Regions from separate parts of the Homo sapiens genome. Here region 1 is linked to region 2. The links are contacts of gene promoters, found by promoter capture Hi-C in human tissues and cell types (Jung and others, 2019). All regions are on one chromosome and are shown on one strand. The core of a region is centred on a gene start or on the middle of the fragment in contact, and the rest is flanking DNA. Distances in the headings are between cores, read along the strand shown. Region 1 overlaps RNF220 (ring finger protein 220). Region 2 holds the start of DMAP1 (DNA methyltransferase 1 associated protein 1).

Region 1 (3,559 bases), core at 946-3,445, 270 kb after region 2:
GGCAGTCTTTCACCAATACAGCTCTCTCACAAACTTTGTGGATTTTTTTTTTTTTTTTTAGACAGAGTCTCACTCAGTCGCCCAGGCTGGGGTGCAGTGGCGCATTCTCGGCTCACTGCAACCTCCGCCTCCCGGGTTCACGCCATTCTCCTGCCTCAGCCTCCCGAGTAGCTGGGACTACAGGCGCCTGCCACCAGTGCCCAACTAATTTTTTATATTTTTAGTAGAGACAGGGTTTCACCGTGCTAGCCAGGATGGTCTCGATCTCCTGACCTCGTGATCCGCCCACCTCAGCCTCCCAAAGTGCTGGGATTACAGGTGTGAGCCACCGCGCTCGGCCAACTTTGTGGATTTTTATGTGTTTTATACTCATCAACTCTATGTACCACAAGCCACACCCACAATTTTTACAAGACAGAATCTACCGAGACTTAAGTACTGGGAATGTCAGGCTGCTGTAGAACCTTGCTCTTAAGTTTTCTACAAGCTTCATTTTCAGCTGCAAGAGCCTATTAGATGCCATCTGATTTCCTTCAGAGCTTAATACTCTTGATTTTGACTTCACCTGGAAACAGTATCGTTCTTGCCGCACTCTGGATTAGGTCTTTAGCCCCAGGATGGATCTTAATTTGAAAATCTCTTACTAGAGAGATTGGAGATGAGAAAGTTTTATTTTTCAACCCCACAAATTCTGGGTTCTCTATATTCCCACTGAATCCTGCTTGCAAACTAGCCAGTTTTCTGAGTTTATCACTTTCTTGTTAGTGCTTCATCAAATACAGCTAAAAGCAGCCAGCTCATGCTTGCAATGTTTTGCCTTAAGATCCCCTCCTTCACCTTTGCTAGTTTATAAGATACGTTTCCTGCCTTCCAAATTATTGTAGTTTAGTCACAAGTTTACCACTAAATAATACAAGTTGCTATTATTCCCGGCTTTTATACCAGCTTCCTTGCTGCCCACTTGCCTAGTCCCAAAGCCAATGTCACATATCTTTGTGTTTTGTTGTTCTAGTTATAACAGCACCTTGCTATTTAAAATGACTGCAAAGGCAGGGCACAGTGGCTCACATCTACTCCCAGCACTTTGGGAGGCCAAGGCAAGTGGATCACTTGAGTCCAGGAGTTTGAGACCAGCCTGGCCAACATGGTGATATGCCATTTCTACTAATAATACAAAAAAAATCAGCCAGGTGTGATGGTGCATGCCTGTAGTCCCAGCTACTCAGGGGGCTGAGGTGGAAGGAACGCTTGAGCCTGGGACGTAAAGGCTGTGGTGAGCCCTGATCGTGCCACTACACTCCAGCCTGGGCAACAAAGTGACTCTGTCTCAAAAATTAATTAATTAATTAATTAAGTGATTGCAAAAGATGAAATGAAAATGAATGGTGTAAAAGAGAGAAAATAAAAGGGCACAGACCCAAGCCCTGGATAACTCTAACATTTAAAGATGTGGTAGAGGAAAAGAAGAAAGGAGTCTGAGAAGGAATGGACAATAGAGATCATAAAACCAAGGAGGAAAAAGGAGTGTTTTAAAAGAGAAAATGGGCCGGGGGCAGTGGCTCACGCCTGTAATCCCAACACTTTGGGATCACTTGAGGTCAGGAGTTCAAGACCAGCCTGGCCAACATGGTGAAACCCTGTCTCTATTAAAAATACAAAAATTAGCTGGGCATGGTGGGGCACGCCTGCAGTCCCAGCTACTTGGGAGGCTAAAGCAGAAAAATTGCTGGAACGTGGGAGGCAGAGGTTGCAGTGAGCTGAGATTGTAACACTGCACTCCAGCCTGGGCAACAGAGTGAGACTCCGTCTCAAAAAATAAAGTAAAATAAAATAAAATAGAAAATGATGAGTTACGTCAAATGCTCCTGGGAGATCAAGGACAGAGATGTACATGTCTTCAGGATTTGGCAATATGGAGGGCAATAGGTCACTTTGAGAACAGTTTAGTGGAATGACAGGGCAAATTCAAGTTGACATGAATTGAAGAGCTAATAGGGGGTGAGAAAATGTATGCAGCAGATGTAGACAACACCTTGGAGGTGTCTGGGGATAAAGAAGAGCAGAAGACTGAGCGTGGTGGCATACGCCTGTAATCCCAGCACGTTGAGAGGCTGAGGTGGGAGGATTGCATGAGCCCGGGAGTTCAAGACCAGGTTGGGAAACATAGTGAGACTCCATCTCTGCAAAAGAATTTTAAAAATTAGCTGGGTTTGATGACGTGCACCTGTAGTCCCAGCTACTTGGGAGGCTGAGGCAGGGGGAATCACTTGAGCTCAGGAATTCGAGGCTGCAGTGAGCTGTGATCGCCCTGCTGCACTCCATCCTGGGTTGGCCATCATCCTCAGCAAACTAACACAAGAACAGAAAACCAAACACCGCATGTTCTTACTCATAACTGAGAGTTGAACAATGAGAACACATAGACCCAGAGAAGGGAACAACACGCACACAGGGCCTGTTGGGAGCTGGAGGTTGAGCGGGGGGTACTTAGAGGATGGGTCAATAGGAGCAGAAACCACCATGGCACACATACACCTATGGAACAAACCTGCACGTTCTGTACATGTATCCCTTTTCTTTGGTTTGTTTTTCTTTAGAAGAAATAAAGGGGGAAAAAAAGAAGAGCAGAAAAATATGATGGCAAGTGGAGAGGATGTGGAATCAAGAGAGAGAACTTTTTTGTTCTTGAGAGAAGATAGCAGTGCATGTGTGTGTGTGCTGGTGGAAGTGATCCAGGCAAAGAAAAAGACTGACAGTCAAGAAACAGAGATGATGAAGCAGTTTAAAAGACAAGAAGGGATGGAATCCAGACCACTTGTGAGGGATTAGACTTCAGTCGTAAGAGGGTCATTCTCTCAGTTGTAACAGGAGAGAACAAGGAGCAGATGAAGTTAATTCAGAGATAAGAAGCCAAAACAATGAGCACCCGCTTTTCCTGGGTGCCTGCTCTGTGTCAGGCATTGCACCAGAAGTTCTGCATGCAGTACTTGGGCCCCTTGATTTTGGTTTTATTTCATTCCCATTTTACAGACAAGAAAACAGAAGCTTAAAAGGTTAATTTTCCTAAAGTTTCTCAACTTACAAGTAGCAGAACTGGGATTCAAACCCCATCCATCTGACCATGAACCCATATTTGATTTCTATTCCAAACAGATTCATTTTTCCATAGAGAAATAATGTTCAAAAAATGAGACAAAACTAAGAATACACGGCCTGCAGACCAGACCTGGTCTAGTCTGGATCCCTGGGGCTCCCTTCTCAGGGGAGCAGGAGGGGTGGAGGGCAGTTGCTGTGGTGAAGACATTTGAAGGAAGTGGGGAGAGAAGACTGATACTAACTCCAGTCCGTTCACCTTTTAGATACTGCATATTTTTCAAAGAATTTTTGTGTTCCTTCTCTCAGTGAGCAATGAATAGCTTCAGTGGAGCTAGAAATCTTTCTGTAGGAAGAAAGGAGCTATGCTCTGGTTGTCATGAGGCATTTGAGTTCTAGGGGATCTGAAATAGGATTCTTCACATTTATCCTTGGCATAGTCTAGGGTAATTCAGTAAATTTTTTT
Region 2 (3,528 bases), core at 477-2,976:
TTCCTTCTTCCTTTCCTTCTTCCCTTCATTCCTTCCTTTTATTATAGAAGAGGTACACATTCATTATAGAAAGTATAGAAAATATAAATTGCCAGATAAAAACAAGTGATGGAATCATTTCAGTTTAGTCCTTTCCAGAATTTTTTCTATGTATATACACATTTATAAAAAAAAGAGAGACCACTAACTTTCCCTGACCAGATTATGGAAAGCAGTTCTCCATCCCATCGCTCTATTTCATTTCCTTCCTAGCTCTTGTTACCATCAAAACTTACATTATCAATTTTATTGTCTATTTCCTTAGTGTTTCTCCTTCTCCACTAAATATAAGCTCCACCAGTAGCTATTTGTATCTCGTTCACCCACTGCATGCCCAGAGTCTAGAATAGTGCCTGGCACATACATTCCTTTATGTACTGTGATCCCTGTCTTCACAGAAATGAGTCTATTAGAGATATATATTAAACAAGTAATTACACAATTAATTAACTACAACTAGGGTCAAGTGTTTCAGGCAGCCAATTGCTCTCTCCCTTTCTGGCTCCAAGGACCATTTCCTTACCCTGTGGACAATTTCTGCTGTAAGACTGTGACTTCCTCCGGCAACTGTTTGGAGCTCAGTGGATCCATCCAGGAATCAGACCCAGGAACAGGTTTGTACCTCCAGGCCTAGTTCTCCAAAGTTTTGGGGACTAGTCAGGCTTGTGGCTACAGCTGTTGTATCCCCTTGTCTTCTCCAGGCCAGAACAGGCTACACCACTTATAGCTAACTTGCGCAAACTGTCTGCTCCTCTAGTCCCTGCTGGTATCTTTGGCAGGTCTCGACTTGGGGTCTGGCCTTCTTAATGCCTTAACAAGCCCCACCCTATCCCACAGGCTATGTGTCCTTCAAATTGACAGGCTGGTTTGCAGACTGCTGAAGCTGGGAGCTGCTTTCCTTGTCCCTTGTGCCCTTCCTCAGGACCTCCTGTCTCTCTCTTTCCAGGAAGATCCCCAGGTTTATTCCCTTGAGGGATACTTCTAAGCTGGTTCCTGCTTGGGGCTGTGTTTTGGGCTTCTTCGTAGCCCAAAGAGTGCAGCTAGCTCCTGTACTAGTGAAGTGCCACGAAGCTGGCCTCCAGGAAATCCCCACGAGGCCACAACCCACAGCTATCTCCATCAGAGGAGGTGCAAATGAGGGCCCACACCTTACTCCATTTTGGCAGCCGCCCTAGGAAGCTCTGCCTTTATTTCTTCATCTTCAAGCTTATCACAATTTGAAGTTTATCTCTTCACCTCCAAGCTTAGCACAGTGCCTAGTACATATTAGCACTTAATGAAGAGGGGGCAATTCAAATCATTAACTCATTTAATAAAAAAATAGTAAATGTCCCACGCACCGTGCTAATGTTTTACAAGGATTCTTGGTATTTCATTTACACAGGTGCCATTACAATTTCCATTCGGCAAATAAAGAAAAAGGTCCAGAGAAATTAAGTGACTTCCCAAAGTCACAAAGTTCTGGTATCTCTTCACTGCCTGAGACGCAACGGAGCATCGTAGAGGGAAAATGCCAGAAAGCAGGCAGTGCACCAATGAAAACAGGCTCGCGGGAGAACCAAAGGGTGGCAAGCTCAGCACGGCCAGTAGCTTTCACCCTCGGTTGCCAGTCGGCTTCGTTTCCTACAACACCGACCGGAAGTGTTTCTGTCGGCCGCGTTCCGAATGAGCACCGCCGGAAGTTTCTGCCGCGGCTTTGCGGGGACGGGGGAGTGGTAGTGGGGGCTGCAGCTGCCGGACCCAGGTGCGGAAGTGCGAGGGCCCAGGTGGCTGAAGGGGCCGTTAGGAACATCCAAGCGGTGGGGCACAGGCAGATCCCCGACCTGACCTGGACCACCCTTCTCCTCTTGGCCCGCCCCTTCAACTCGCCTCCGCTTAGGTCTGGATTGGCCCCGCCCCCTGACCTGAGCCTGGTCCTTCTTCAGGCACTGACCCTTGACCTCCGGTGGCTCCCCCATCTCTCAGGCGCGATGGCTACGGGCGCGGATGTACGGGACATTCTAGAACTCGGGGGTCCAGAAGGGGATGCAGCCTCTGGGACCATCAGCAAGAAGGACATTATCAACCCGGACAAGGTAGCAGGGGCACCTGAAAGCGTTGACTAGGGGAGGGTAGGGGAGTGAAGATGGGGAGGAGTGACAACGGGCAAGGGATGGGTGCTACACTTACAGTGAGTTGGGCGATAAAAGGGGTGACATAACAGGACAGGGAATATGTGTCATCCTTGATGGGAGGGAGGAGATGGGACATCGTGGGAGATGGTGGGACCAAGAGGGTATGACACCTCTAAGAGCTGAGAGGACCAGGCAAGTGTGATTTTTGCAAGATATTGTTGGGGAGAGATCAAGACATTGTAACAGTCTGAGAGTTGGTGGGATGGGGAGGGGACTGCTCTGATTTGGGCGTAGGATGGTGTTCCTGGGAGTGGGTTTCTGTGCCTTTACAGTGTGTCAGTTTGCCTGTCATTGACCCTGTAGGTGCTGCTTTGTTCAGGGATTGAGCTGGACTAAAGAATTTTCAGGAAAGGGTCTAGGTTGTGGTTCCTTTCTGTGGTTTCCTTCCTCAGAAAAAATCCAAGAAGTCCTCTGAGACACTGACTTTCAAGAGGCCCGAGGGCATGCACCGGGAAGTCTATGCCTTGCTCTACTCTGACAAGAAGCAAGTATTGGAGTCCCAAGTCCCCCAGGTTTTGGCCCCTGATTCACCTGCCATGCCCCTAACTCCTAGTTTTCTCTAACAATTTTCTCCTCCCCAGCAAGGGCTCCTGCTTGCTTAGCAGGATGCAGGAGGACCTGAAGTCTTTTGCTCCAGGACATGACTTTCTTGCTATAGGGTAGGGTAGATCAGCTCCCTGGGACAAAAAGCTCTTTAACACACCTTCTGATTCTAACCTCGCATCTCCCTAAACCTCCCTGCCAGGGATGCACCCCCACTGCTACCCAGTGACACTGGCCAGGGATACCGTACAGTGAAGGCCAAGTTGGGCTCCAAGAAGGTGCGGCCTTGGAAGTGGATGCCATTCACCAACCCGGCCCGCAAGGACGGAGCAATGTTCTTCCACTGGCGACGTGCAGCGGAGGAGGGCAAGGACTACCCCTTTGCCAGGTTCAATAAGGTAAGCTACCTTCATTCGGACACAGGCCAAGATTGCCCTCCCACTTTGAGCCATTTGTGCGAGCTCTCCAGTCTCCTAGGGTTGGTTCTGGGGGCACGCTTATGCCCAACTGTGATTACCCACTCAATCCTCGTGGCAAATGCATGCAGAGTAGGACTCTGTGGGTCTTTTCTGCCCAAGGGATCCTGTTCTTTCCCGGACCTGCTCTGGTTTTTCATGGCTTTTCTTGGTCTTTCAAATGTTGCTGTTCCTCAGAGCTGTATCCTAGGTGCTCTAGTCTTCTTGTTCTCTACTTTCTTAGTATGAACCCTGTGGCTTCAGTTACCCTCTCTACAAGTCACCAATCCAGAGCAGTGCTTCCTTCGCATCCAGTC

Evidence for each region. Contacts are between HindIII fragments. The study calls those that stand out against the background at their distance.
Region 1: a fragment that was not itself captured here is called in contact with the fragment with the promoter of DMAP1 in region 2 in 1 of the 25 tissues and cell types used here (bladder).

What each region holds. Positions count from the first base shown.
Region 1 is chr1:44,479,076-44,482,634 of GRCh38, forward strand. All of the region lies in intron 2 of RNF220 (ring finger protein 220), which reads left to right. Among named protein-coding and RNA genes, the nearest start is that of MIR5584, 65 kb to the right of the region's middle. The HindIII fragment of the contact is 6,321 bases long and covers 1-3,559 here.
Region 2 is chr1:44,211,745-44,215,272 of GRCh38, forward strand. It overlaps DMAP1 (DNA methyltransferase 1 associated protein 1), which reads left to right and starts at 1,727. Exons shown (of 10, transcript NM_019100.5): 1 at 1,727-2,114; 2 at 2,606-2,697; 3 at 2,959-3,154. The coding sequence starts at 2,010. RefSeq lists a silencer at 1,036-1,135 and enhancers at 1,533-1,827, 1,566-1,805, 2,571-3,072, 3,073-3,528. The HindIII fragment of the contact is 10,626 bases long and covers 1-3,528 here.